2 separate regions of the Homo sapiens genome follow, and region 1 is linked to region 2. Evidence: promoter capture Hi-C in 16 types of primary human blood cells and fetal thymus (Javierre and others, 2016). All regions are on one chromosome and are shown on one strand. The core of a region is centred on a gene start or on the middle of the fragment in contact, and the rest is flanking DNA. Distances in the headings are between cores, read along the strand shown.

What was found. The method cuts DNA at HindIII sites, captures the fragments that hold promoters and counts their contacts. A CHiCAGO score of 5 or more calls a contact.
Region 1: a contact is called between the fragment with the promoter of PDE8B here and the fragment with the promoter of S100Z in region 2, in 5 of 17 cell types (fetal thymus, erythroblasts, monocytes and 2 more). The highest score is 9.2, in fetal thymus.

The regions. Positions count from the first base shown.
Region 1 is chr5:77,208,248-77,212,914 of GRCh38, reverse strand. PDE8B (phosphodiesterase 8B) reads right to left here and starts at 2,235. Exons shown (of 22, transcript NM_003719.5): 1 at 1,651-2,235. The coding sequence starts at 1,989. The HindIII fragment of the contact is 3,521 bases long and covers 431-3,951 here.
Region 2 is chr5:76,848,230-76,853,483 of GRCh38, reverse strand. It overlaps S100Z (S100 calcium binding protein Z), which reads right to left and starts at 3,470. Exons shown (of 5, transcript NM_130772.4): 1 at 3,329-3,470. The HindIII fragment of the contact is 3,987 bases long and covers 64-4,050 here.

The DNA of each region.
Region 1 (4,667 bases), core at 986-3,485, 360 kb before region 2:
ATGAGCTGTCACAATTTTGAACTACTGCTTCAGGTCTTCAACCGTCAGGCAAAAGGATGGTCTTTACTGATAATATCCCAACTTAATATTTTCACCAAATTTAACATTTTCATCCCTGAAAATTGCTCCTAAAGCTAACTTTGTGTGAACAGGGAGGGGGAGAGAGAGAGAGCTTGACAAAAGCAAAGTATAGCGTTCAGCACATGCCTCTGTAACGAATGGGCAACTGGTAGGTTTGTACTGTCATAAATCCTAGACTCTAGTCTTCAGACATGCTATGCTAAGATCACACTGTTAACATTCAATAGTTAGGAGAGAAAGCTTACTCCTGGCACATAGTAGGTGCTCAATAAACGATGTTTTTACTATAATGGTGATTATGATTACTGCCAGAGAAACACTGCAACCACAAGCAAACATCAGTCAAGCTTCATGTTAAACAATCAGATGCTGTTAAAAAAAAAATAGGTTCATTAAAAAACTTTTGGACTTCCAGATTGAAGCCAAAACATGTTATCCTTCTCCTCACTCCTCCACTGTGGGCTGCCTTCATCCAATGAAGACCAAGTTTTTAACTATTAAAAATACAAATGTGTCTTTGACAAATAATCCATGGAATGGTTCTTGGTAACCTATTGACCAGGTAAAGGCTGTGATTCTATCTGACATTAGGAGTATTTTTTTCTCTCTGTACAATAGGATATGCCATTGTTATCTTGTTTGCTGAAAGGAAAAAAGACCCAGTGCCCAGATTTACACAATGAAAAGCCTCTTGGATTTAACGGTACTTTGAGAACATACGGGAGGACACTATTTAAATAATTATTTTTCTTCTGTCTTTAAGAAATAAATATTTAGCGACTGCTTTAACCATCTAAACAATTTTTTCCACTTCCTCAAAATCCCACTCTCTGGGAAGATCAGTTGTATGTGCAGAATCATCCTCAGACAGCTGTACTGCACTGGAAACCACGTCCCCTCACGGTGGCTCTGCTGACACTCCGAACTCATGGCCCGGTTCTCTCAATTCTGTCTAGGATGCAGCCAACCCAGAGAAACGTTACAGTGACAAACAACAGGTTCCACTCTGCTCCGTTCCCACATCTCTTAAAACACGAACACTCATTCATTCACAAATCCCTACGCTCGGTTCCTGTGCTGAGACTCCAGCCTGGCTGGTAATCCCAGGTAAAAATCGGAATATGGGGCACTATCTATCCTGGTGCTGCAACTGCACCAGTCACCTACAAGGCACGCAAATCCAGCTCAGTGCTCAGATTTCATTCAACAGGACTGGCCACCGAATGCTCTCAATGGTCCCCACCCCTCTTCCTGCATAAACCAAGCCACAGCCTTCCTGCCCTCAAGGAGGAACAGGCCAGCCCACCTGCTTCCTTCTGCGCTCCCTTCCCCGCCCAGTCCCCCAGGACCAGCTAAGGACGCTTCCAGGACCCCTCCAGGGGCCTTTTTCTGACCACATTTCCTGGGCTCCCATCATCTCCACAAATGAAAAGTAAACTCCTCCTTAGTGACAACCTCTCCAAACCAACCGCCTCACGGTCACCCAACTCCGCCGGAGCCCCCTACCCGTGCGAGCCCCGCCGACGGGGCGGACGGCCCCCACGGCGTGTGCCAGCGCGGGGCATTTACCTTCACGCTGGTGTAGCAGGTCTGAGTCTCGGCCTCGGCGCTGCTGCAGCAGTGGCGCCTCCGGCCCCTGCTGGTGGTCGCGGCGGGGGCTGCGGAACCCGCGCTGCTACCGCTGCCCAGCTCGGTGCGGGCCCTGCGGACGCGGGCTACGCTGGGGGGTCCCGACGCGCGGCTCGGGGGGATGGCGTCGGCGGCGTCGGTCTGGACGAAGAGGCCGGGCAGGGGTGCCGCCGGGCCCTGCGACACGCTGGTGGTCTGGCGGGGCGAGCTGGACTCGTCCGAGTCCCGGCAGTAGATCACGCCGCTCTGCGAGACATGGATGCTGGGGGCGCAGCCCATCCCTCGGCCGGGCTCCCCCGCGCGCCCGCCCGCGCCCGCGGCCGCCGGGACCCAGCGCACCCGCTGCCACCTGCAGTGAGGGGGCGGCCGCGGCGGCGCCCGGACTGCGCGCCCCCCGGCCTGTGTGTCCGCCGCTCCGTCGGGCTGGCCGCGGTGCCCCCCGCCGAGCCTCCGGGGACCGCGCGCGTCACCCCAACTTTCCCTTTTGGGCCATCTTCCTCCCCGAGCGGGGGAGCGCGCATACACAGCGCCCCGCGCGCACCAGCGGCCGCCACCCTCCCCGCCGCGGCGCCCCAAACACGCTCCCCGCGCCTCCGCCTTCCCCTCCTCCCTCGGCGCGGCCCCCGCCGCCGCCCAGCTCGACCTCGCCGGGCTCCCGCACCCGCGGCCCTGGGCCAGGGCGCCCGCCCGCCTGCCCGCCTGCCTGCACCTTCTTTCCCCACTTTCGGTCTGCGCCCGTCCCCTCCCTCCCTCGCTCCCACCCTCCTTCCTCCTCAGGTGCCCCGGCTCCGCGGCCGCAGCCGCCCGGGCCCCACTGCGCCCCTCCGCCCCTCCCGCCGCTCCCGGAGCTCTCCCGACAGGGCAGAGCGTGCCCGCGGCTCGGCTCCGCCGCGGGGCCCCTGTGCGCGGCAGCTGGCACCGCGCCTCGGCGCCCTCCCCTCCTCCTCCGCTGTCCAGAGGCCTCGTCTCTTCTGCACTCATCCCGACGCCGCCCCCAGCGCCCCAGCCCCTCTTCCCCTGAAGGGCTGTGTAAGCCTCTCGCTTTTCACCAACACATTTTCACACATCCCAGAGCTAAACACCAGGAGGCCCCTCCCGAAATGGCAGGGGCCCTACAGCCCAGGCCCACCCACCGCATTTGCTTGCCTCTCAACACACCCGGGAAGTGATGGAGAGACCTCATGGTTCCGTCCTCTTCCCCCAGCCCCACCGCCTACTCCGAAGGCTGAGTTGGATGGTGACCCAGTCTTCAGAAGAAGCCCATTCCATGTCTACTCATCGTTTGGAAGTTTGTGCCAAGGGATGGGAGGCCCTGCGGAGGAAGGCACCCTTGAACACATACGTTCCCCTAAGATCCAAGGCAAGAACAGAAAGAAGCTGTCTGATGGTTCTTGGCTTTCTCCCCCATTTTCACCTCTTCCTTAGGTGTCACTAAATGTTCATGCTGGTTTCTATCCCGTCCAGCCGCCCATGTCAACTGCTGTTCCTCACACTCTGGGCTGGGCAGTCAACAAGGCCTTCCCTCATTCTCCTTGGTGAGGCATGCACAGACTGAGCTGTGCTGGAGGAGAGGAAGAATGCCTTTAGAAGGATGGCTGCTGTTCATCCTTCCCTTGTAAACTCTGAGTTACAGCTGCGAGACACCACTGCCCATTCAGTCACTGGTTCCCGCAGTAATTCCTGCCCGATTTTCACAATGGCACGGGGAGATAAATTAGATGGTCTAAGAAAGGATTTTATCTAGAGTTGCTTATACGGACAAGGGCAGTAACATAGAGGCTTAATGCAAGGCACAAAGAAGTATCCAATTTTAAGGTTTGTTTTTTGTTTTTTTTTCATTCTTATTTTCCTTTTTCTTCCTGGACCACTCTTGGATGTGACTGGATGAAGACTTCAAAAGACAGTTTCTAAATTTCATAGAGAAGCAAGATATCATTCCCAATCCCAAATTCAGTTATACAGGGAGAGTCTAACCTTATTCTTCTACCTTTGCTTCTCTTCTCAGTTTAGCTCTCTTTTTTTGATACAAAAAAACTCCATCTCCAGCTAACCTGGAAAAAGTCTATGCTGTATTTTTTAATGGACAGGCAAATTGCTCATAAAATTTCTGCACAGGTTGGGTCCTCCTAGAAGCAGATTCTGAGATGGTGTTTAGCAGGCAGAGGGAGGCTTTTTAGGAAGTGCTCTTGTAGTCAACATTTGTGGGAGGAAATAAAGGGAGGGAATGGAGGGAGGCAAGCTTGAGCAGAGGGAGAAATTGACCAAGCCTCAGGCATCCCTGCAGGGAGGATTCTGAAGGTGGGATGATGCTTCAGAGTTGTTCTGAGTTGGGGCTGGGTTCTGAGTTGTTCTGGTGGGCCTTTATACCCCAGCATGGACCAGTCTTTACATGCAGGCCACCTCAGCGACCTTGGGCAAGGTGGCTCTCTTCAGCTGAGGCACTGCCCCTAGGAGATGTCAGCTGAGCCAAGGGCTTTCTGCTGGCAGCACTCCCAGTAGCTGGAGGAGTAAGTCCTTTCCTGGCATCATAGCCTCCACCCACAGTTCCCTTCCAGGCTGCTGAGATCCATGTTTCCTTGTCCCATCCATGCCTGTAAGAACACCACATTAAATGGCTGAGACTGAGATATGGGGACAGTCATTCATTTAAAACTAAGCCTCATAGCAACCATCTGCTCTACTTCCAAAGGACAATTTAGGACCTGGGAAAACAACATCAGAGTTAAATTGCAAAAACACTAGTCTCTATACTAGTCCCTGATGTAACGTTCAAGTCAGGGTTTAATGATTCCTAAAGCTTACCTGTGATAATGCATATAGCATTTCAGTCATTACCTTTCATGGAGCTATCAATGACAGCCTTCACATACTGAAATTTACAGCCATGCATATTCTCATGACACATGTCTACTTTTTCAGAGTTTTCTCTAGGAATGCAATGAAACCACCCAGAAAAA
Region 2 (5,254 bases), core at 2,221-4,720:
GGGGATACAGATCCAAACCATATTAGCAAGTAATAGAATAAGCAAATAAAAGTAGTTCAAGCTTAATAAGGTAATTTGCTATCTCTTACTATAAAAGTTGGTTGTTTCAGTGTTTTGTCAATGCTATCAAGGGCCCAAGATCTATCTTTCTTCTTCCCTATCTTCTGTGTGCCAGCTCTCATCTCTGACTTGTCCCCGCACAGTCACAAGATGACTGCTGCAATTCCAGGCATCACATCCTCAGACCATCTATGGAGGATTATTTGGAGGGAGTCCAGGCATTTCTCTAGATTTTTCTAAAGTTTCTGAAATTAATATAGCCAGATCAGTAGAAAATTAGGTGTCTGAACTGTATCACATTGGCCCCTCCTAGAATTGTTTAAGCAGCTGTGCTTCAAGGGAAATGCTGCTTGAAGCTGCTAGAATCATCAGCCTTAGACTTGAATCGACTCTGGGATGAATGTTGTTTGAACTTTTCATTCCCTCTCTATGAAGACTCTCAGGGGAAAAATGTTGCTCTGGTTCTTGTGTTGAGAAGAGTCCTGACTTGCCTAAGCAGTCATCCCATGGATACTATGAATAGCCCAGCTGATAAGATAGGATAAGACAGATAATGTATCCTCTTTTTCTTTGGCTGCTAGAAAGCCTAGAATCAAGTTCATGAGCCACCTAGGCCGAATACTTGATTTTACCACATGCTGCAAACTCAAATACCTACAGCCGGGTCATGTTCAAACTTTGCTGTTTTTTGTTTGTTTGTTTGTTTTTTGAGACAGAGTCTCACTCTGTCACCCAGGCTGGAGTGCAGTGCAGTAGCGGGATCTCAGCTCACTGCAACCTCCGCCTCCTGGGTTTAAGCAATTCTTGTGCCTTAGCCTCCTGAGTAGCTGGGATTACAGGTGTGCACCACCATTCCTGGCTATTTTTTTGTATTTTAGTAGAGATGGGTTTTCACCATGTTGGCCAGGCTATTCTCAAACTTTGGCCTCAAGCAATCCACCCACCTCAGCTTCCCAAAGTACTGGGGTTACAGGTGTGAGCCATTACACCCAGCCCAAACTATTTAACAACAGATACAACAGAGGCACTAAGCAGAATGAAAAGCAGTTGTGAACAGGGAGCATCAGCCTGCTTCCACGGCCAGGCTGCTAGTGTAAACAGGCAAAATTGAGACTAAGAAAAAAAAAATATCTTGACTAATTTTTTTTATTACATTTGATAGAAGGGTGAGTTCAGAGAAATAGTCCATGCTGATAAGAGGACCGACACTGCTTCAGTGCCAGACAGCCAAGTGGAGTGGAGGCCAGTGGGAAATTGGAGAGCCCGTGCTCTCCCAAGAAGGCGAGACTGCTTCTCAGACCCAGATCATCGTTGCCAGATGGGATATGGCTCAGAGCTCCCAGAACTTCACTTTTTTTTTTTTTAAAAGAAAAAGTGAGAAATTTTAATTTTTAAGAATTCCTGGATTTTAAGACTGCAACTCAAGACAAACAAACAAAACCCACCAAAACCCAACAGACAAACATAAGACTGCAGGACAACTCAAACAGGAAATTCAGCGAATGCTGGCCAGCTTGTGACTTCTGCTTTCTGCTGTGTACTTTATATTTAACCTCATTCCTTCCTCTACTTTACATCTCGTTCTTTTCTGTCTGCTTTCTCTCCTACTTAATTTATAATATCTTACTCTACTTTGTGTTATCTTCATATGTCACCTTAAATCCTACCTAGGACCCAGGAGAGTATAAATAAACTGACCACAGGACATCTCCACTTAGGTAACACATCAGAGTCTCAGATTCCAAACCACAGCAAACTGATTTTGGCATTTTCCAATCCCCTGCTCCCTTCTTCCTCTACCCCAGAGGGGATCCCCTTTTTTTGCTGCTCCAGTCAACAGCAATACCCTCATTCACCCAACTGCATGGCCAGAAACCTGAGTATGATGCTATTCCTGGCCCCTCTCTCTCTCTCATGCAATCAGTTGCCAGGTTGTATCTCCTCACTCTCTGTTCCTTCCTCCTCAACCCTAGCGCCATAGTTCAGGCCCTTGTCACTTCTGGCCTGAATTACTGCATGAGATCCCAACTCACCTCCTGCACCTACTTTGCTCTTCTTCAAAATTAGCCTCCCCTGCCTGCTGGGAGGCACACCTGAGCTCCTCACTTAACCTCCTGGACAGGCCCTGCCATCCCCTGGCTAAATCTAAACTCCCCGCAGTGTGCCCACCCATCCCCTCTGCACCATCTGTGCCGCACACGTGGCACTGCCACTGTGCTGCCCATTCCTCTGCTCAGGTGCCAGTCCTCCAGGGAAGCCTCCGATGCCCCTCAGCTCCTGGGAGCACTCCGCCTCTGGGTGCCCCTGTATCACCTCATGCTTTCCTCTAGACCTGCACCGGCACTGGGTTGAAGGAAAATAATAGTAGCCAACGTTAATTAGCACATACTCTGGGCCAAGCACCCTTCTAGGCAGTTTAAATGTATTCCTTTATGTCATCCTCAAAAATCCCATGAGGAGGCTGGGGAGCGGTGGCTCATGCCTGTAATCGCAGCACTTTGGGAAGCCAAGTGGGAGGTGGAGGTTGCAGTGAGCTGAGATCACACCACTGCACTCCAGCCTGGGTGACAGAGTGAAACTCCATCTCAGAAAAAAACAAAAAACAAAAAAAACTTTATTTCTCTGTCTAACCCAAATTTTGTGTCCTCTCACCAACTTCTCCCCAGCCCCTCCATCCCTCTTCCCTCTCTTCTTCTGTAGGCTGAGAGCAGCCATTCCAGGGCTGATTGTCCAGGCATGCCCAGCACTGGCCAGTGTGAAGAGGAGGAGCATAGACCACTGCTGTGACTTCCTGGGAGTGGGCTTACACTGGCATCTGTGCAGGCTTCAGGAAAAAGAAGCGAAATCACGGCGTGGATCTAAGGGGCCAAGCCTCACCTTGAAGGTTCTTCTGGGTCTTTGGCCTGGACAAGAACATGAAACTTGAATTTCTCAAGGTGAGGTGAAGGCCAAGCAGGAAGCCAGGATGGTCACCAGGAAAGGAGCCAGAATGAACTAAGTGTTCTTTAGGGCAAGGAACTTACCAGAACCTCTACGCTCCGAGCTATGATCAGGCTGCTCTCTCCCTCTCTCTCTCTCTCTCTCTCTCCCCCACCCCCCCGACCCCTTTGTGGCCAAGGTAAGGCCACATTTTAGAGTGGAAGCCCCAAGGCAACCCCCCACCTCACAACCTCCACTCTTGTTGCCCTCTCTAATCCAACGCCTGCCAGGCTCACACTTCAACCACTAGACTGAAAAGCAAGAATCTTCCACAAAAATAATCTTTTACCTTAGACCTGCTTCCTGTGCAGATGAGATAAGGAGAATGCTCTTGTCTGAATTTCTGGGCGTGGAGATTAGCAAGCCGTTTTCCTCCCAGCAGCTAGAGCGAGCAAGAGGCCCTGCTGTGAGTAGTGCTGTTCTGAGTCTGCGTGGTCCAGACTCACCACACTGCAGGCACGTTTCTTCATCAGGTGGGAAAGCAGGAAGAGGTTTAATTTAGGACCTAAAGCTGGTATATTGCTGAGTAAAAGAAATGGGAAGGCACCAAGTCTCTAACGAAATTGCGCTGGGTGCAGTGGCTCATGCCTCTAATCCCAGCACTTTGAGAGGCTGAGGTGGGTGGATCACTTGCGGTCAGGAGTTTGAGACCAGCCTGGTCAACGTGGCGAAACCCCATCTCTACTAAAAATATAAAAATTAGCCAGGCATGGTGGCGGGCGCCTGTAATTCCAGCTACTCGTGAGGCTGAAGCAGGAGAACGCTTGAACCTGAGAGGCAGAGGTTGTAGTGAGCTGAGCTCGCCGCTGCCCTCCAGACTAGGTGACAGAGCCAGATTCCGTCTCAAAAAAACAAAAAAAAAAGAAAAAGAAACTGCTTGTGATCCAACACTCCCCCACTGGTGCCTCCTCATGGTGAAGAGCAATTACTCTGGCACCAGAGTCTTGGGGTTCAAATCCTTACTTCACCAGTATGTGACTGGAAAAGCTACCTAACCTGCCTGCTGAAGCTTCATGGCTAATAATTCCTCACAGCATTTCTTTTTTTCTTTTTTTTTTTTGAGACAGAGTCTTGCTCTGTCACCCAGGCTGGAGTGCAGTGGCATCATCTCAGCTCACTGCAACCTCCACCTCCCTGGTTCAAGCTTCTGCCTCAGCCTCCCAAGTAGCTGAGATTACAAGCGCCCACCACTAAGCCTGGCTAATTTTTGTATTTTCAGTAGAGATGGGGTTTCACCATGTTGGTGAGGCTGGTCTTGAATTCCTGACCTCAAGTGATCCGCCCACCTTGGCCTCCCAATGTGCTGGGATTATAGGCGTGAGACACTGCGCCTGGCCCAGGAGGAATAAGTTTAAGAGCTCCCATTGTACAGCATGCTATCTATAGTTAATAACAATATATCGTGTATCGAAAATTGCTAAGACAGTAGATGTTAAGTGTCTTTATCACCCCCAAAAAATGACAAGTATATGGGGCAATTAAGTCAAATAGCTTGACTTAATAATTCCACAATGTATACATAAATTAAAACATCAAGCTGTATTTGTATACCATAATATATACAATTTTTACTTGTCAATTAAATAAATAAATACACAGAAAAGGGCAGAGACAGGTCAAGAAGCACAGCACTCAGTACAGAAATACAGATAACAATATATTGAAAGAAAGAATTCAAAGATAAATTTTTTTTTTTTTTTTTTGGAGACAGAGTCTTGCTCCATTGCCTAGGGTAGAGTACAGAGACACAATCACAGCTCTCTGCAACCTCAACCTCCCAGGCTCAAGTGATCCTCCCACTTCAGCCTCCCAAATAGCTAGGACTGCAGGGTATGCCACCACAACCTGGCTAATACTTGTATTTTTTTGTAGAGATGGGGTTTCACCATGTTGCTTGCCCAGTCTAGTCTTGAACTCCTGGGCTCAAGTGATCCTCCCAGCCTGGCTTCCCAGAGTGCTGGGATTACAGGCACCAGCCACCGCACCCGGCCAAAGATATGTTCTGAAGATTGAAACGTCTCTCTTTCCAAAATAACTACTCTTGGCCAGGTATGGTGGTGTGCGCCTGTAATCCCAGCTACTCGGGAGGCTGAGGCAGGAGAATTGTTTGAATCCGGGAGGCAGAGGTTGCAGTGAGCCAAGATTGTTCCACTGCACTCCAGCCTGGGCAAGAGTGAGACTCCGTCTCAAAAAACAAACAAAACCCAAAAACCTC